Regions from separate parts of the Homo sapiens genome. Here all the other regions are linked to region 1. The links are contacts of gene promoters, found by promoter capture Hi-C in blood cells and fetal thymus (Javierre and others, 2016). All regions are on one chromosome and are shown on one strand. The core of a region is centred on a gene start or on the middle of the fragment in contact, and the rest is flanking DNA. Distances in the headings are between cores, read along the strand shown.

Region 1 (2,700 bases), core at 131-2,630:
ATGAAACAGGCGTGTTTGAATTCGAGAAGTCTATTATTAGACTTTTAGACACTCCATGAAAGAGTGCAGGGCCCTGTTACTTTAGAAATATACTTGGGGACTGGCAAAAACTGTCATCTCTGATTTTAATAGTGGACACATTTACTCCCTGCTTCCATTCTCTGGGCTACTCTGCGCTCTTGGAGCGAGATGGGAAATTTTGTCAGGCCGCAGCAAGGACGGATTTATGTTGATAGTCATCAAACTCGCCCCGGGCTGCTTCCAGAAAGCTAACCGGATTACTTGTACGCGGTTCCCAGCACTGTCCTTTGCAGTCAGCTTGTCGCTGGCGCCGATGGGAAGAACTGAAACGCCTCAAGGGTGGGGACGGCGCCCCCTGCTGGTCGCGCCCTCGGGCGACGATAAGAGACTGAGGACCCGAGCCCGCGCGGGGAAAACTGCCCTGAGCTTGGCTTAGGGATGGTCCGCAGGCCGCCTGGTGGGAGCAGGACCGCCGTGGCCCGGTCCGTTCTGCGGTTGCGTAGGTCATAGAAGGAAAAGTGGTTTGTGATCTGATAGGGAATCTGAGGACAGACCCAGGGAGAGCAGAAATAAGCGCGCCGCCGGGGGGTCGCCAGAATTGGAGGCTTGTGCGCCTCTGACAAGTATTTGCAACATAAGTATGCATATGGATAATGTATCAATACACACGTGTAATAGATGCCAAACAAATTCTTCAAATAATTGTCACACATTTAAATTTTCAGACATTCACAAAATCAAATGTAAAATATTAAACTGAAAGTTCACAACTTAAATTTTCAAAAATTAAATCTAATTAAATTTCCAAAGTTGAACTGTTTTCAAAATTAAATTTTAAAATATTCAAAATTCCGAGGTAAATTTCCAGAAATAGTTAAAACCTCAAAACTCAAAATTTTTAAATGAAATTTATAAACTTTAAAAGGTGAGTCATTCCTCAGCTGGAATCGCACCCGGGGCCCTTGAATAAAATGCTATTTTGATCGCTAGAACACATAGAAACTTCTCTAAAATTGTTCTGCAAAATTCCCTAAAAAGCCGGCATCAACCCGCCTTTTAGCGTCTCGACAAGGCGTTCTATAGGGTAGGTTATATTTGGGGATCTGCCTTTTCTGGTTCTGCCTGTCCTGAGTTGGAGATCTGACCGGGAATCTGAGCCTAACCCAAGTTTCCCATCCCGCTTCCACGCTCTGAATCAGGCTTCCGACCTGACACACCACTTCCTCCCTCTCCCCTCGGCCTTCCCCTGGACCCGACTGTATTGCCCAATCATTTCCTTTCATTTGTCATCACCACCTTGGACCCGCCCCCTCGTCTCAGGCCGTCGCACGCGTTTTGCGTCAGTTGGCAAGGCACTTTACGGCCGTCGTGCCGCTCGTGTCAGTCAACATGGAGGCAGAGGAATCGGAGAAGGCCGCAACGGAGCAAGAGCCGCTGGAAGGGACAGAACAGACACTAGATGCGGAGGAGGAGCAGGAGGAATCCGAAGAAGCGGCCTGTGGCAGCAAGAAACGGGTAGTGCCAGGTATTGTGTACCTGGGCCATATCCCGCCGCGCTTCCGGCCCCTGCACGTCCGCAACCTTCTCAGCGCCTATGGCGAGGTCGGACGCGTCTTCTTTCAGGCTGAGGGTAAGTATGCAGGCCCTGACGGTGACAGGAGGAGGTTGTCGCTCGCTGGCGGGGTGCAAGCATGCATGTCCTGTTGCTTCGCTGCGCGAGGCTGAGGCACGAGTTGCTGGATTTTGGGGGTGGGGAGTGCGGTGCTTGGCTCCTGGCTGGTGAATCAGTCTGTGAGGATGCTGGGGTGGGCGGGCGGAGGGGATATGGGGAGAGTGGGTAGCGCAGTGTGTCTGGTGGTTCTTTAGTTCTCGGATTGTTACTATTTGTGTTCTTATCCCGGCTCTGTTCACCTCTCTTTCCGGACCTGTTTACTGGTTTGTTACATGAATACAACCTGAGTAAAAGTCTCGTCAGCTTTTCTACAAAACTGAACATAACTCTTTAGCATTGCTGCCTAGGTCAAGAAACTATTTGATCAACCGCCCCTCTTCTTTCCACCCTCAATTTTACATTGAGGCTGAGGACTTGTGCCGGTTTTAAGCAGCGTTCAGGGCTGGCCAGATTAAGGAGTGGACAATTAAGGAAAGAATTGAGTTAGCTAGAGGAAAGGGTGCGATTTACAGTTCCCTTCCTCCTGGGCAAAAACTCTTCAGGTGGGACTCCCACTGGCAGATGTGAAGAACGTTGCGGGCAGTGGGAGGTGCTTTTGAGTGAGTGCTGCATAGGCGTCCTGGACGGGTCTTTGTCTTTGGCGCGCAGACCGGTTCGTGAGACGCAAGAAGAAGGCAGCAGCAGCTGCCGGAGGAAAAAAGCGGTCCTACACCAAGGACTACACCGAGGGATGGGTGGAGTTCCGTGACAAGCGCATAGCCAAGCGCGTGGCGGCCAGTCTACACAACACGCCTATGGGTGCCCGCAGGCGCAGCCCCTTCCGTTATGATCTTTGGAACCTCAAGGTGAGAAGATAGATCTTTCTGCCACACCTCTCACCCTCCCTTCTCCCCAACTCTGGCCCAAGTATCCCCATGGCCTCTCATTGGCCTTGTCCCCTTGTCTCATCTTTCTCCCTAATCTGCACTATCCTGATCTTTTCTTCTTTTCTGCCCACAGTACTTGCA
Region 2 (2,700 bases), core at 26-2,525, 580 kb before region 1:
TCAGAGGACGCCAACGTGGGCGCCAGCCACGCCAGCAGGGTCACCGTCCTTCCCAAGGACAGACAGCTCGCTAGCCACTCCTGTGGAGAGGGCGTGGTTAAGCCATATATTTTGCCAACTATCCCAGAAGCATTTCTTAGGACCACCCAATTTCGGAAAATGCTACTTTAGCAATATTGACCCCAAAACGCAATATCCCCACTTTAACCTTGTATAATAAAAAGCCTCAAGCCTGGGACTGGGCTTCAACCTTGGTTCAATACGGTTATGACTAATTAGCTTGGAGTCGTGAGACGCGGGACTTCCGGCTACCGAAACCCAGGTGACTTTAAAACTCGATTTTAACTCGGTGCATTTGAATTCACCTTGCTATCTTTGATAGATTGAGTAGTAAATTCTTACTAGATGAGGCTATGTTAAAGTTCTATCGACTCTCCAAGTGATTCTAATATAATTGAGGGCGTGTTGCATTTGCTTGGGGGATTTCATCTGTGTACTACAGCTCTTTTCCTGAAATGCGTAGGTGGCTCTTAAAAGAGCCGTTGGGTTACTAGAAGAAACTTCTAACTGAATTTACTTTTTCTTGGGTGCCGCTTTCTTGGGTTTGGCAGTCTTTGGCTTCGTCACCCTAGCCTTGGCCGCCTTGGGTTTTACAGCCTTAGCTTTAGCAGGGCTTTTAGCTACTTTCTTGGGCTTTACAGTTTTGGGTTTTTTTGGATTCTTGGAGGATTTCCTTGTTGCCGCAGGCTTTTTAGCCTTTTTCGGAGTCTTGACGCTCTTTTTGCTAGCCCCCGTGGCCTTTTTGAGCTTTTTAGATGCACCCGTTGCCTTAGTTTTTGTAGCCACCTTTGAGGCGCCGGGCTTGGTTTCCACGGAGGACGCCTTCTTGTTGAGCTTGAAGGAACCCGAGGCTCCGGTACCCTTTGTCTGCACCAACGTTCCCTTGCTTACCAGGCTCTTAATGCCCAGCTTAATGCGGCTGTTGTTCTTCTCCACGTCGTAGCCTGCGGCCGCCAGCGCCTTTTTAAGAGCTGCCAACGACACACCACCACGCTCCTTAGAGGAGGAAGCAGCCTGCACGATCAGCTCTGACACGGAAGGGCCAGCGGGTTTTTTCTTGGAGGCTGCTGCAGCCTTAGCAGGTTTCTTTGCCTTCTTGCCAGCTAAAGGTTTCTCAGGAGCAGCAGAAGCGGCGGGGGCGGGAGGCACTGTTTCAGACATGGTGACTAACACAGCACACCAAATAAAGTGGTATAAACCTGACGAAGCAGGATGCGAAAAAAAGGCCCCAACGCAGCCTATTTATAGGGTGGGACTGCGCCGTGATTGGTGCCCGTCAGTGCCCGCCCCTCGCGCCCTAGCGCCCCCTGCGCGCTGCCGAGGGTTTCGCCCAGTCTCAGAAGGCAGCTGGGGGCCTCTAGGGCCTATGGTCCTGCTCCCCTCAACGCAAGCAAACACACAGAAAAAGCCGCTCTGGTTGCCTCATTGTGAAGGAAATTGTAGGCAGACTGCCGCCCAGTAACATCAGAGGGTACCGCTTCTCTCTCAAAAAGCAGCTCTTTTTTAGGGAGTAGGTTGAGAGGGGGCGGTTTACAAATGCAGTGCCACAAGCATCCGAGGAGTTTTATTAGAAATTTTTAGAGGTCCGTTGCCAGAGATGTTAGTTTTTAATTTGCAAGAAATGTAAAATACAGTGTTTTGAATAGTTGCGGAGGGAGAGAAAAGTGCGAGTTTTAGGCCGTGTTAGGGCCAGTTGTCATCAACTCTATTACATTTTCTGGCAATGTTTTAGAGCGATGTGTCTCGCGAATACCTTTCACGTCAAACAAGAATGAATCGTAGACAACACCAGAATTCACAAACGCTGCAATTAATACTCAAACTGCAAGTGTGGAAACGTTTCTGCACTTGCAACTTATTTCCACAGTCCAATGTGGGATGCACTTCAGGAATTTCCAATGCCCTTTTCATCCATACAACATGCCCCAAATTGGTATTAAGGTTTACAACCTGTGTTCCATGTCAGCACACGCAATCAGCGCACCATGACATGGTCAACTCATTCTTTTATTCAACAAATATTTATGGGCCTCACAAGCCTGCGAAAGGCGTTAAATGCTGGGTCCACGAAACCGGTTCCCTGACAGGCATTCTGCTGGGGAGTTAAGTCCACTTAGTGTGAAAGCAAACACGGGTGATAAATGCAAGCACACCCTGGGGATAAGATTTTATGGTAACAACCCTTTAACTTGTTTGTGGCTGTTAAGTGCATTTCAAAGTATCAATAAGCTAAAACGATCTCACATTGCCAATCAGAGACTCAGCTAATGGGAGAATAAAAAACTATTAAATCGACATCCACTTCTACAATCCTATTCTGGATAACCCCCTAGCACAGCACAGCAGAGAGTGAGGTAATGCGGTCTTATTTCCGCTCCTGCTGTGGTAGTTTTCAAATAAGTCCGAACCATGCTAAGTAACCTGAGCTTTTCCCCTTTTTGTTCAAACAACGTGCCAACCAAATAATGGAGTGGTCCCAGATAAGTATTGTACCCATCTTCTGCACCAGTGCTTCCTACGTCCCATTTTATTGAGAAGGCATGCATTCAAATATTTCACGTAATTTCTAAAAATTTGGAAAATAACGGTTGGAAACTCTACATCTTGGTTTGACGGCTAGTCAGTTATGAAACACAGGTA
Region 3 (2,779 bases), core at 113-2,612, 880 kb after region 1:
ATGAACAACAATCTATAGCACAACTTATATTTGTATGGACACCTGGCTACCCCATCAAACTGCTTCATGTCTATTCCCTCAAATTATGGTCTTCCATAAAACTAGTGAATTTCTTTTAGTCTTCTTTTGAGCCTGTAGGGGTGAGAGAATCTTTTTTCTCCCTTCTGGAGGTTGGATATTTGAGTCTGAGAAATAAAGCTGCTAGTAGACAGATTAACAGAAGAAAAGGCATACACATTTATTATGCACATATGCACAGAGGTCCCAGAAAGTGTAAGTGAGACTCAAAGAAGGGGCAGATGGTTGAAGCTTAAATAGGACTTGGAGCTACATAAAGAAATAGGAGCTTGAAGGCTCCTGGAAGGTGGTGGCGAGAAGCAATGTGAGGGTCAGGGCAGGAACAGCTCTGGGAACAAAGCTTGTCTTATTATACAGATAAAGTCTCTCAAGTAGCAGCCCTCAGAATAGGTGGTGAAGAAAAGAATTGAAGTCTGGCTGGGCGAGATGTCCCGGGCATGGAGACCTTTAGTTTTCTCTCCTGGGATCTGAGTTAATCTTCTCTGGTTAATACAGATTCCAGGAGAGGGTTCATGACAATCTCTTTCCTTCTGGAGGAACCTCCGTAAGTCAAATAAGGGAAACTTCAGTGAAAGCCCCTCCCTGCCATTCAAGAAAGAAAGAGGATCAGGAGGCAGTGGGGCTGCGGAAGGTCAGAGAGACTTTGATTCTGAGGTTGCTTCTTTAGTTCAAAGTACTCAGCACTTCCAAGAGCCATACTTTGGGGTATCATTTTCTGAGCTCTAACAAGGGTCCTCAGAAAATCTCTGTCTCTTCCCTTCCCGGTCTTCCTTCGTTTCTCCTCTTCCTCTTCCTCCTCTTCTTTCTCCTTCATCCTCTTCTTTCTACCTCCTGTCCCTCCTTCCTTTCTCTCTTCTCCTTTCTGGTCACTTTCTTCTTTTCCTCTTCCTTCTTGTCCCTCTTCCTCATTTATCTACTTAGTCGACATGATTTCTTAGCTTGCGATTGTTTCCCTCTTTTCTTAGATTAGTATATGGTTCCAAGAAGTAGATGAAAGCCAATTACAATAATCTGTGCATCCAAAGGGCTCAGGGAAACTCCAGGACCGGCAGCTTTAGACTTCAAGACGGAAGCATAAGAGGAAAAGAAAACATACTGCGTGGGTTAGATTTTGAGAGAAGGAGCGTCTGCCTTGGCCAAAAATCAAAGTAGGATCTTCCTTTTGATAGGTAACCTGGTTCCATGGGAACTCATGAACAATCTATAAATTTCTTTCTTAACCCAACTGAAGCGTGGAAGCGCATTGTGAAATGCAAAATGCCGTGCAAACGAGACCGGGTAGATATACTCCCTTGGGTTGGTGTGAGCCTAGAGACTTAGGGACCTCATCAGAGCAAGAAAGTGCAAGTAGGCTTTTCTGCATCATTTTCTGGCCCTCCAGTTCAGACACAAATCAAAAGTTAGTCCCTTCTTGAAAGCCATTAGCATTCATCAAGGAGCCTCAATGAGAGGAAGTTTCAAACAAAAACTAAATGTGTCAGGCCCAGATTTACGGTGAGGGTCTGATTCCACTTCCTTGCGGGGTCAGTTTGGGTCCAGGTGAGAGAGGTACAGTGGTCTCTAGTTTTCTGGAAACGGTACTGCTGATAGGGCAAGGACTCCTTGCGGCTGCCCCAGAGAGGTTGGCTTGTCTTATCCAACTTGCACTTCACGTTAGAGTTTCTAATGAACTCGCAGACTCCAGTTTCTTGCCCAGGAAACCATTTTTACCGTATTTTGTTCTTTTGACCGTTTCTTGTCAGTTAGCTGGTGTAAATTCTGTTTAAAGATGTGAAGGGAGCCTTCTCCATTCGTGTAGTCGTGGCCGAGTGGTTAAGGCGATGGACTAGAAATCCATTGGGGTCTCCCCGCGCAGGTTCGAATCCTGCCGACTACGGGATGTTTTACTGAGAACAGTTCAGCGAGGAAATAGGATCTCACATTTGCTTTCAGTTTGGGAGTAAAGAAACTCGTGATAGAGCCTCTGCGTGTCACCTAACATAGCCTGAACTTTTGCCGACTTCGGGATGTTTTACTGAGAACAGTTCAGAGAGGAAATACGATGTCATATTTGCTTTCAGTTTGGGAGTAAAGGAACTCGTAATAGAGCTTCTGCGTGCCACTTAACGCAGCCTGAACTTTTGCCGACTTCGGGATGTTTTACTGAGAACAGAGAGGAATCGTATTTACTTCAGAGAGGAAATACGATGTCATATTTGCTTTCAGTTTGGGGGCGAGGGAACTCGTGATAAAGCTTCTGCGTGCCACTTGACGCATCCTGAACTTTAAAAATACATCTGCAGACTCTTTATCTATTTTACCTCAACGGAGCGCAGGTATTGGTCCCACCTCTGCTTTTCCTGTCTTTGAAACCAACCGATGCACCTTTCGGGATTTGTAACTCCTATGTTAGCTAGGGCTCCAACCATGGTTGAACATAGACGGAAACCAGTGCGTCACAAAGGAGGCTAGCGAGAGTTCTTTTTTAAAAGGGTCTGACAAAGCGTCCGAGGAATGAAGGAGGAACTGGAGAGGATTCGCGGTTGGGCGGAGACACGTTCGCTGAATTGCCTTGCGTATATTTGGTAGGGGAAACGTGTGACTACAGAGCAAAGAAAGATGGACAATAGCGAGTAACTTCACAGGGATTTCCTAAGAGCTCCATTTTCACGTCAATTCCTCGTTAGTATAGTGGTGAGTATCCCCGCCTGTCACGCGGGAG
Region 4 (2,700 bases), core at 196-2,695, 550 kb before region 1:
TCAGACTTAGGAGTGTCCAGATATCCCTATATCTGGAGAACAAAGGCATTCTTAATTTTGTTTAAAGATAATAATGTTGATTCTTGCAAAATATAGTAACTAAGAAAATTAATCCTTTATCACAAACTTGTAGCAGAGCACATCTCCCCATATATACAAGTATTGTACCTAGGGTGGATGCCTTCCTCCTCTTACTTTCGGGAATGTCCTGCTCCGTCTATGGAGTAGTTGTCGTTTCACCACTTTACTTTCTTAGTAAACTTGCATTTACTTTGCACTGCGGACTCACCCTGAACTCTTTCTTGCGCGGGATCCAAGAACCCTCTCTTGGGGTCTGGATGGGGACCTCTTTCCTGTAACATATTTCTGGCCACCACAGAAGGGACTATAGTACAGAAACCCTGACCCAACAGCTACCTTTGGGTAAGTGTTGGAGTTCTGTAACAAAGGAAGAAGGCAGGCAGGCAAAAAATTTATGAAAGAACATACGACAAAATAATTTCTGCTTCAAAACTTCATATTTTTTTAATTTTTTTTTTTTTTTTTTTTTGAGACGGAGTCTCGCTCTGTCACCCAGGCTGGAGTGCCATGGCGCGATCTCGGCTCACTGCAAGCTCCGCCTCCCGCGTTCACGCCATTCTCCTGCCTCAGCCTCCCGAGTAGCTGGGACTACAGGCGCCCACCATCACGCCCAGCTAATTATTTTGTATTTTTAGTAGAGACGGGGTTTCATCGTGTTAAGCAGGATGGTCTCCATCTCCTGACCTCGTGATCCGCCCGCCTCGGCCTCCCAAATTGCCGGGATTAAAGGCAAGAGGCACCGCGCACGGCCCCGTCCAAGTTAACCTTGGCTCTAAAACTTGTCTTCGCTAACATTCCAGTTGATCCTCTAGAACTGAAACAGAATAGCAGCAGCACCACCTTAAGAAATTGTGGTTATAGCTCTCCTTGTGACAAAGTAGGTGGCTCTGAAAAGAGCCTTTGGGTTTGGAAGTGCTTACATAAGCACTTATTTAGAGCTAGTGTACTTGGTAACTGCCTTAGTGCCCTCGGACACAGCATGCTTAGCCAGCTCCCCAGGCAGCAGCAGGCGCACAGCCGTCTGAATCTCCCTGGAGGTGATGGTCGAGCGCTTATTGTAGTGAGCCAGGCGAGAAGCCTCGCCCGCGATGCGCTCGAAGATGTCGTTGACGAAGGAATTCATGATCCCCATGGCCTTGGATGAGATGCCGGTGTCGGGGTGGACCTGCTTCAGAACCTTGTACACATAGATAGAATAGCTCTCCTTGCGGCTGCGCTTACGCTTCTTACCATCCTTCTTCTGCGCCTTAGTGATAGCCTTCTTAGAACCCTTTTTAGGGGCTGGAGCAGACTTAGAGGGTTCAGGCATTGCTATTCCTAAACAGAATAGAAAAGCTACTAACACTCTCCACTACAGAGTAGTACAGAGAACAGTTCAGAGCCCATGTATTTATAGTCCTGAGATTCAAATGACGGTTTAAGATTCCTCACTTCTGATTGGACAAAAGAAACACGGTTTCACTGAGGGGTGGGGTTTATGCAAATATGGAATTTATGTTATCTTTTTCTATTGGATAAAGCACCAAACATAATTGACCAATAGGATAGCTTCCTATTGCAGCCTTGCAGTTTGTATAAAAGGATTTGTTCAGGCGCCATTCCAGCTTGCTTGTCTTTCACAGTTTTCCGCTGCTTTCATAGGTCGCTATTTGCGGACGTGGAAAATGGAGCTAAAGCAAAAACTTGTTCGTCGCTACCGGGCTTGCAGTTCCCAATAGGGCAGAGTCCGTCATCTTTTTCGAAAGGGCAATTATTTTGAGCCGGTCGGAGCCGGTGCGCCAGTGTACTTACAATACCTGGCCGCCGAGATCTTAGAACTGGTGGGCAGCGCCATACGTGACAAGACCCGCAGCATCATCCCCCGCCACCTGCAGCTGGCCATCCGAAACGACGAGGAGGTCAACAAGCAGCTGGGCAACGTCACTATTGCTCAGGGAGGCGTCCTGTCCAATATTCAGGCCGTCCTGTTGCCAAAATAACAGAGCCACGATAAGGCCAAGGTCAAGTAAACACTCAAATCAGAAAACGTAGCTTACACTTGAAACGGCATTTTTCAGAGCCGTCCATAGTTACACAAGAAAGGATGATAACTTGCTTCTGTTAGGGTATTTTTTGCTTTTCGTTTGGATTGGTTTGTTTTGAGACAGTCTAGTTCTGTCACCCAGGCTGGAGTGCAGCGGCGCGATATCGGCTTACTGCAACCTCCACCCCGCCGCTTCACGCGGTTCTCATGCCTCAGCCTCCTGTGTACTTGGGATTACAGGCGTCTGCTACCGCGCCCAGCTAGTTTTTGTATTTTTATGCGAGACGGGGTTTCACCATTTTAGCCAGGGTTGTCTTGAACTCCTGGCCTCTAGTGATCGTCCCATCTCGCCCTCCCAAAATGCTGGGATTACAGGCGTGAGCCACCGCCCCCCTAGCCTAATGGTGTTAAAAAGTTAAGTTTCGAGAAAATAACACCTTCCTTTAGAAAGTACATTTTAGAGTATACAAAGTGAAACTTAAGGCCAACCAAAATAAGACATTTTGAGAACAGGCAGGGTGGGAATGTGACTTGGACTTAGAAAACAAAGGGCAAGGAAACTTGCTGTTCGCCAGTAACAAAATAGCATGGAATCT
Region 5 (2,700 bases), core at 17-2,516, 910 kb after region 1:
AAGTACTGAGTGTCTGAAGTTACACTGTTTCCTGAATCTACTGTAAAGCCCAGATAAGTGTTCTTGGTCTTTGAATGTGCTGGAGAAGATAGGAAGAATAGACTGGGGCCAGAGAACTTCACCTTGAATTTTTCTAAGCTGTAAGATGAAGACATTTAACAAAATCAATAGAATAAAAATAATAAGGGCTTGGCAGCCAGAGGCTAGCTTTAACATCCACTTCCTGTGGTTTAATAAACCTTTCCCATTCTTGGGCTCTCGAATTTTTAGGCCGAGAAGATACAGTGTGTGTGGTACTGTCTACAAACCAACGAATTTATATTGAAGCTACAATCACAATCATTGTTATTGCTGCAAAACAGGTAATGCCTTGTTGCTGTTGAATGACAGTCCCTAAACTTGGGCTAACAAAACACTTAATACACTATAGGCAAAATCTTCACACACCAGACAAGCAACTTAGACTTATCTACAGAGAAAACTCGATGGAGTCTGACTTCGATTCTCAGAGCTTGTAGGTGAGGAAAAGAGAATTGCCTTCCTCAAATCAGGATTAACGTTAGGTGGTGTTTACACCACAGCAATAGATTCTCTCTTACTCGAGACACGGTTGTCTCGGATGTTGGAGGAGGAGGAAAGTAATGGACTCAGAGAAAGAGGTAAACTACAACGCAGGGTTAATAATGATGATGACAGCTAGAATGCAGAGTTCAACGCAGTGTTACCAAAGGAGATGACACAATTGTAATCCAGGAGACTCAGTTGCCTTTGGGGTGCAATTAGAAGGAAACTATTTGGGAGAAGTCAGGCTAAAACCAAACCGTAGCCGACAGGATTCGAACCTGCGCGGGGAAACCCCAATGGATTTCAAGTCCATCGCCTTAACCACTCGGCCACGACTACGCACCTGTGTAGTGCTCTTGGTTTAAGCTTTTGAAGATGTGAGCAGTGTGCCATTCTTGGGTAGTATGGTAAGTAGATACTACAGTAAAAGATGTTTTGGTGCCTGGTTACTAAGTCTAGTAACAAAGAATTTTCTAGGTGCATTAAGAGCTTCCAGCTTTTAGATGAAATAAGTCATCCATACTGAATTGGAATTCAGTTGAGAAAAGTGGAGTTCAAAGGAGCATTCTGAGACAAGAGACTTGGATTTTCTCTCCCCCTAGAACTCCACTTGCTAGTCACGGTTGATGCACCTGTTCACAGGTATTTGTGAGAAACCAGCAGAAAGGGAGTTTGGAGCTGAGGGTCTGATCCTAGTAGCTTCACAGCCTCAAATGACAATAGCACAGGAAACCTGCTAGAGGAAATTTGAAGGAATTATGACCTTGGAGTCATTTGCTTTTGCTTTCAGTATTGAATACTAAACCAGAAATATCTTCAACAGCTTTGAACTGCTTTGTCCTTTCTCTGGCTTAAAGAATTCGTTGAAACCCAATTTGAGCAGGGGTGCAGGATGAGAAGGGGCAGGGAAGACCTAGCCCTCGTGGACCCTCTGAAGAAAAAGTTGATGGGAAGGTCTCCATCCTCTCAGGAAAACTCACTCCTTTTCACCTTCCCCAGGGAGGGAAGCAGGCAGTCCCAGGAGCCAGGGGAATATGGAGAAGCTTAGATAACATGTTTTCCAAAATTTTGCAGCTTGAGAACATTGTCTGTCCCTCCTAACGTAAAAGAGCTTGTGAATGCCACATTAAATCTAGCTATATTAATACCTTTTTACCCCCTAGGATTAAAGACTGTTGGTTCAGGAAAACACTGCAGAACCAGGCTTTTATTGTTTATTCTTTAATGGGGAATCTCAGGGATTACAGCTTTGAGTTCTGGGAATTGAAATGCTTGGCCAAAGTACCACCAAGTAGATTCAGACAGACTTTCAGATACAAACGAGAGAATCTCTTTTACACCTGAGACCCTCGAACTCTCTTGCAGATACAGTTTTCCCACATGCATTTTCGTTTAGGGCAGACAAAAAGGCAGTTGCTCCTGAAGTGAATTGCATTGTGTTGCCCAGAAAGATATGTTGAAATCCTAACCTGTGGTACCTGTGAGTGTGACCTATTTGAAAACAGTCTTCGCTGATTTAATCAAGTTAAGAGAAGATCATGCTGGATTCAGGTAGGCTCTAAATCCAGTAATCCAGTGACTGCTGTCCTTATAGGAAGTGAGAAATTTAGAGACACAGACACATAGTCACTAGTTCAAAAGCTATGTTGAGAGGGAGGCAGAGACTGGAGTGATGCAATTACAAACCAAGAATGCCAAGGATTTTCTTCAACCATCAGGAGCAAGGAAAGAGGTCTCAGATTTTCCCTCAGAGCACCTAGAAAACAACCAACCCGGCCAAAATCTTAAGAATAAATCTGTCTTTTTAAGTTACCCAGTTTATAGTAATTTGTTAGGGCAGTCTTAGGAAACTAATCAGCTCCCTTACCCATGTTCTTGGAACAAGATCCTTGCTGTTGCTGCCTTAGCACTTCTCCATTCCACCAGGAAGCTCGTGCAAATGGTGACTCACTTCTTTTTTTCTTTTTCCTTGAGATGGAGTCTTGCTCTGTCGCCAGGCTTGGAGTGCAGTGGCAGGACCTTGGCTCACTGCAACCTCCAACTCCCTGGTTCAAGAGATTCTCCTGCCTCAGCCTCTCGAGTAGCTGGGATTACAGGTATGCACCACCATGTCCAGCTATTTTTTTTTCTGTATTT
Region 6 (2,778 bases), core at 169-2,668, 600 kb before region 1:
GCAGCAATACTGCTCTTCAAGTCATTGAGATGTTTATGTGTATGCATATCTAAAGCACAGCACTTAATTCTTTACCTTGTTTATGATGCAGAGACCTTTGTTCACGTGTTTACCTGCTGACCTTCTCTCCACTATTATCCTTTGACCCTGCCACATCCCCCTCTCCGAGAAACACCCAATAATGATCAATAAATACTAAGGGAACTCAGAGGCCGGTGGGATCCTCCGTATGCTGAACACCGGTCCCCTGGACCCCTTTTTTTCTTTCTCTATACTTTGTCTCTGTGTCTCTTTCTTTTCCAAGTCTCTCATTCCACCTAACGAGAAACAACCACAGGTGTGGAGGGGCAGCCCAACCCTTCAACCTACCTATCTTATCTCTTCCATTATCTATCCACATATGTCCTCTGTATTTTTTTGAGTAACATTTATAAGCATAAGTCCTTAGGTAGCTATGCCACTTACATAATGAACTAGAAAAGGTAACCAAACAGAATAGGGTTGTACTCAGATATACCTTCTACAAGTTTGTGTTACACATATTTACACATATTTAAAAATATATACATATTATTATTGTGCTGTGTGGTTATTAGGCAAACTCAATAAGCAGTTCTTATAAAGTATACTCAATGTAACTTTTATAAACTTACCATATTTTATAGTTATTCTGTTTTTATTAGCTGCTATAAACTACCTGGGTGTCTTGCATGAGTCATTTTATTGTAATGTTTTTGTATCTGTTGAATGAGGAGTTAGAAGGCATCATCTTTAAGGAGCTTTACAGGTACATGTCCAGGGCTCAATAATTTTATTATTATTTCCTGGACAGATAAAACCTAAGCAGGTGAAGGGGAAAGAATAAAAGTGCAGGGTGGAAGTTGCTTGAATGCTAACTGGGTCAACGATCTCCCAGAAAACCCCTGTAAAAGAAACCTAAGAACCTACATCACCAGGAGACCATTGGGACCAGTTCCTCTGGAATCCCTGAGGCCAGATAATCAGCTGAAGCTTTACATTCTGTCCCTTTCTGGTCATGACTTTCTCCACAGTCTGCTTGGTGCCTCCTCCTCTGTGACTCTAAATTCTTAGGATCAACCCCTCTTGCATATGCACATCCGCAGTGCCTGTGGGATACGGTGTGGTGTGGGGAGGAAACTCTCTTCTGCCTTAATATTTTCCTGTGTGCCCCAGGCCTTGACGGAATCCTGTCTCTCCATAATGTTGCTTTTCGAGGAGACTGATTGATTGAGATGGCGTCTCACTTTGTCGCCCAGGCTGGAATGCAGTGGCGTGATCTCGGCTCACCAACCTCCACCTCCAAGGCTCGAGTGATTCTCCCACTTAAGTCTCTTGAGTAGCTGGGACTACAGGTGCATGCCACCACGCCTGACAAATTTTTTTATTTTTTGTAGAGATGAGGTTTCGCCATGTTGACCAGGCTGGTCTCAAACTCCTGGACTCAAGTGATCTGCCCACCTCGGCCTCCCAAAGTACTGGGATTACAGGCATGAGCCAATGTGCCCGTCCTGAGGAGTTTTCTTCTGGAATTCCTGCTGGGTTTTTGTAGTCAGTCCTCTCCCCATTTCCCACATTGGCTCTTGCAGACCTTCCTTTTCCCCATTTCTATTTGCTACCATGTCAGACATGACTTTTGCCATAGGATCTCTATTCTACTATAGAGGAAACCAAAGCCATCAGTAGAAATTTCACTAACATGGAATCAGATTTATAGAAGAAAGGGGGAGGAAAGTTTTGCCTTAACACCTGGAAGGGTTTCGTTTCTTTTAGTAGCTGGGAGACAGAAACATAAGAAAGTAGCTTAGTAAGCTTTCTGCTGTTCAACTGATGATGTGTGAGCTGTCAGTAGTTCAAACTAGTCATTATCTTTATGAATTAATTATGTAATAACTTAAACAATGTCATAAACCTTCAAATCAGTTTAAGTCTAAATGTGTCATATTTAATAACAAGAGCAAGAAACATACGTTATGATGAAGAGCTCTTATATTTTCTTTGGATAAAAGTCAGTAGGCGGGGCGCGGTGGCTCATGCCTGTGATCCTAGCACTTTGGGAGGCTGAGGTGGGCAGATCATGAGGTCAGGAGATCGAGACCATCCCGGCTAACACGGTGAAACCCTGTCTCTACTAAAAATACAAAAAATTAGCTGGGCGTGGTGGCGGGCGCCTGTGGTCCCAGCTACTCGGGAGGTTGAGGCAGGAGAATGGCGTGAATCCGGGAGGCGGAGGTTGCAGTGAGCCGAGATTGTGCCACTGCATTCCAGCCTGGGCGACAGAGCAAGACTCCGTCTCAGAAAAAGAAAAAAAAAAAAAGTCAGTAAAATTTAAGAGAAAAATGCATTTGCTTTGGGACTTTTAATATTTAGTCTACAAATCTAGCCACCATAGAAATCTGCTGATTAAATACGGGTTCTGTTAAAATGGAAACATGCATTTTGGGGGAAAAAAGAGGGAGTGTTTTAGTGATTTTGTTTTTTACACTTGTTTATAATAAAATTTTAAGCAATCTTGAGGGGAACATTTTATTTCTACTTGTAACTGCATAAAGTTATGAGATAAAGTTACAAGCTATATCACATACAGTTTGTAGCTTTATAAATTATGAAATTCTAACAGAATAAATATGCTAATATGATGAAAATGTCATAAATTACATTAGAATATATTTTAATAAACCAATTCAGAAGGAGCCAATACCCAATTTCAAAATCATATTAATTGTAAAATTAATTAGGGCAGCCAAAATATTCTGGAAT
Region 7 (2,760 bases), core at 184-2,683, 530 kb before region 1:
AAAAATATAAATAAATACATAGAGAGTATTACAAAAGGAACAATATATTGCAAAATATATTTACCTAACATTTTGAAATTGCCATTATAATTGTATAAGTGACATAGGAAACTGGGTCATTAACAGCTATCTTATTCTTCAAGCTTCTTTCAAATGATGTCAAAGCATTTCAGAAAGTCAAACCTACCCTCAAAGGATAAGAATTTGTCAATTGTGAGGATATGCACATTTTTACACCTTCTCAATCTGTGTCTATATGAAGGCAGTTATAAAGCACAAGATGCAAACGTATATTAGGCAATAGTCTTCATCAGAATAAGTACATAACCTGACACAATGACTATATTGGAAGAAACATGGAAATGCAAATTTCAATAGATTGGTTGACATTATTTTTTAATGTCTAGTTTTTTACTGTGCTGTGTTTTTACACACTTAATGAGCACTTGTTAAGCACAGGACACCAGGAGAAATAATAAAAACTAAGATCAGCCTAGCAGTGTGTCCTCTCAAGAACTTATACCTGGTGGGACAGATACAGACAAATATAACCATCATACAGTGTGAGAAATCGATAGAAAAGACACAGCCACTGAGAGCACAAAAGAATAAAAACATAAAATGTTAATGTGCTGGCTAAACGTTTGCCTTCAAGTATTTACCAGTCTAGCTGGGAAAATAAGACAGAAGACAACAGCCTAAAATAGTGGTTCTTAAACATTTAGATATCAGGACTTCTTTACACTCCTAAAAACTATCAGGCCTCCAAAAAATATTTTGCTAAATATAGGCATTTATCACTTTGGAAAACAAAGCTGAGTATTAATTATTTAATTATTTATATTAATATTTATTTGATAACCTTTAAAATATTATAAAATTAATATTTATTTATAATGCATATATGTGATTATATAGTTCATATGTAGCCATATATTTATCATATATACCATAGATTTATGTTATATATTACATATGTATGAAGAAAAAATGGAAAGTAAACCCAAAAGTTCCCCATTCCCTAACCCATTCAAAACCCTGGAAGTCCCAGGCTAATCTGAAACTTGTAAAACTGCCTGCATGTAGAGAGCACAGCTGAGCTGGTAGTGTGGAAGAGCAGAAAGACAGCAGTTCTGGAGCAAGGAAGCTTTATATTTAATCCCAGTTTCTCCATTCATGAGCTTGGTTACCCTGCCAAGTTCCTTCTCTGTAAAATGGGAATAATACTCCCAGAAATACAGTGAGGATTAAATTAGATAATGTGCATACAGTTCCTGGGATTGGGATCAGCACACAGTAGCCTCTCATTTGAGGCATATTTGCATTAGATCCTTGCTGTATGATATCCTTCTGTTTCTTTCTTTTTTTTTTTTTTCCTTTGGTGACCCTAAGAAAGATGGTACTCTCCTTAACTTGGAGGGCTGGATGCGAAGAGACCAAATCCAACAAGCTGGTTCATTCTTTCTAATTATGTGTGCTTCCCTTAGCTGCCTCTGAAAGGATACAGGCCCTAGGTACTAGCCCCAAGAAGCCTAATGATAAGAGATAGAGCTGGACCACCAGAGAAGAGATGAGTGTGTATGTGTGTGTGTGCAAGCAATTATATGTGTGCATTTAGGAGTGGTAGGTGTGTAAACAGTCTAGAACACTCATTCTCACTGTGATGTGAGGATGTATCCCCACATCACTGTTCTGGGAGCTCACTCCTTGTCCATCATCCAAGCTTATGATGGACAATTCTTTCCCAAGTGGGAAAGAATTCTGATGACACTCACATAACTACCCAGTCCCAACTTTCTGTATCCAAGGTGTGTGCATACCTTTGATAGCAGGCAGGTGTGCCTAGCCAATATATTAGGAGCATGGTATTCCAGCACTCTGCACTTTTTTACTATAGAATTCATCTCAACCTGCTTACATTACATGAAAGTTTTGATTGATATCAAATTTTTATTATGTTTGCTTATCAAAGGATTTGTAATTATGCTTCAGTTGATACATAGATTGTTTATATTTTTCATGGTTACTTGAAGCACTTATATTTTCCTCATACTTTTACAAAGTAATCAAGGAAAAATACAGAGGCAGCTTAGTATATTAGTCAAAAGAATAATTAGACTGTCTTGGAACCTGGAATGTCTGAGTTCAAATTCAATTTTGCCGTTTTACCAGCTGTGTGACTTTGGGTGAGTTAATAAACCTTTTCGTGTCTCAGTGTTCTCACATGTAAAGAGACAATAATAAGCCTACCTGTTTCATGGGTCATTATGAGGATTAAGGAGTTAACATTTAAATAGTTCTTAGAACAACCTCTGACATATTTTAAGTACAAAAATATATACATATATTAAATAATAACTTTTCTAAAACATCCTACCTACAATCTTGTGTGCAAATTGGTGGCTCAATTCTGCAACTGTTGTTGGTGGTGTTGTTGTTAAGCTTTTGTTTGTCATGACTGTTATCAGTAATATTAATACAGACAGTTAACTGAACCCTTCCTCTGCACCAGGCATTATATGGACTATTTTCATTCTGACTCCCTGCATTCTATGAGACAACCACCATTGTAATCATTCTCACGTTGCCAATAAGGAAATGGAGAATGAGAATTCAGACTTCTCCAAGAAGTGCTGCAGACTGATTATAAATCATGCATCCTAAACACACACATATTAAAGTATCAACTAAATCAAACAGAATAAAACTTTTGTTTTTCTATCTACAAAATGCATGAATTAAAATATGCCCCAACTACTT

What was found. Contacts are between HindIII fragments. The CHiCAGO score rates a contact against its expected background, and 5 or more counts as called.
Region 2: a contact is called between the fragment with the promoter of H1-1 here and the fragment with the promoter of ABT1 in region 1, in 1 of 17 cell types (neutrophils). The highest score is 9.9, in neutrophils.
Region 3: a fragment that was not itself captured here is called in contact with the fragment with the promoter of ABT1 in region 1 in 7 of 17 cell types (M1 macrophages, total CD8 T cells, M0 macrophages and 4 more); the score reaches 8.2 in M1 macrophages.
Region 4: a contact is called between the fragment with the promoter of H2BC3 here and the fragment with the promoter of ABT1 in region 1, in 4 of 17 cell types (monocytes, neutrophils, naive B cells and 1 more). The highest score is 11.9, in monocytes.
Region 5: a contact is called between a fragment that was not itself captured here and the fragment with the promoter of ABT1 in region 1, in 1 of 17 cell types (fetal thymus). The highest score is 5.5, in fetal thymus.
Region 6: a fragment that was not itself captured here is called in contact with the fragment with the promoter of ABT1 in region 1 in 1 of 17 cell types (neutrophils); the score reaches 5.1 in neutrophils.
Region 7: a fragment that was not itself captured here is called in contact with the fragment with the promoter of ABT1 in region 1 in 1 of 17 cell types (neutrophils); the score reaches 5.2 in neutrophils.

The regions. Positions count from the first base shown.
Region 1 is chr6:26,595,573-26,598,272 of GRCh38, forward strand. It overlaps ABT1 (activator of basal transcription 1), which reads left to right and starts at 1,381. Exons shown (of 3, transcript NM_013375.4): 1 at 1,381-1,651; 2 at 2,342-2,538; 3 at 2,693-2,700. The coding sequence starts at 1,411. RefSeq lists enhancers at 263-412, 513-672, 1,230-1,669. The HindIII fragment of the contact is 8,276 bases long and covers 1-2,700 here.
Region 2 is chr6:26,016,512-26,019,211 of GRCh38, forward strand. It overlaps H1-1 (H1.1 linker histone, cluster member), which reads right to left and starts at 1,276. Exons shown (of 1, transcript NM_005325.4): 1 at 521-1,276. The coding sequence starts at 1,221. The coding sequence ends at 574. It also overlaps the pseudogene H3P26. RefSeq lists an enhancer at 1-468. The HindIII fragment of the contact is 5,921 bases long and covers 1-2,700 here.
Region 3 is chr6:27,476,940-27,479,718 of GRCh38, forward strand. It overlaps TRS-AGA2-2 (tRNA-Ser (anticodon AGA) 2-2), which reads left to right and starts at 1,873; the gene lies at 1,873-1,954. TRD-GTC2-6 (tRNA-Asp (anticodon GTC) 2-6) reads left to right here and starts at 2,735; the gene lies at 2,735-2,779. The HindIII fragment of the contact is 1,893 bases long and covers 417-2,309 here.
Region 4 is chr6:26,042,268-26,044,967 of GRCh38, forward strand. It overlaps H2BC3 (H2B clustered histone 3), which reads right to left and starts at 1,446. Exons shown (of 1, transcript NM_021062.3): 1 at 960-1,446. The coding sequence starts at 1,390. The coding sequence ends at 1,010. It also overlaps the pseudogene H2AC5P. RefSeq lists an enhancer at 1,690-1,929. The HindIII fragment of the contact is 16,277 bases long and covers 1-2,700 here.
Region 5 is chr6:27,505,007-27,507,706 of GRCh38, forward strand. TRS-TGA4-1 (tRNA-Ser (anticodon TGA) 4-1) reads right to left here and starts at 903; the gene lies at 822-903. RefSeq lists an enhancer at 636-715 and silencers at 826-1,257, 836-895. The HindIII fragment of the contact is 677 bases long and covers 929-1,605 here.
Region 6 is chr6:25,999,835-26,002,612 of GRCh38, forward strand. LINC02980 (long intergenic non-protein coding RNA 2980) reads left to right here. Exons shown (of 3, transcript NR_186645.1): 3 at 1,416-1,941. Among named protein-coding and RNA genes, the nearest start is that of LINC02980, 8.6 kb to the left of the region's middle. RefSeq lists an enhancer at 1-319. The HindIII fragment of the contact is 819 bases long and covers 1,010-1,828 here.
Region 7 is chr6:26,061,825-26,064,584 of GRCh38, forward strand. No RefSeq gene overlaps it. Among named protein-coding and RNA genes, the nearest start is that of H1-2, 6.7 kb to the left of the region's middle. The HindIII fragment of the contact is 576 bases long and covers 1,146-1,721 here.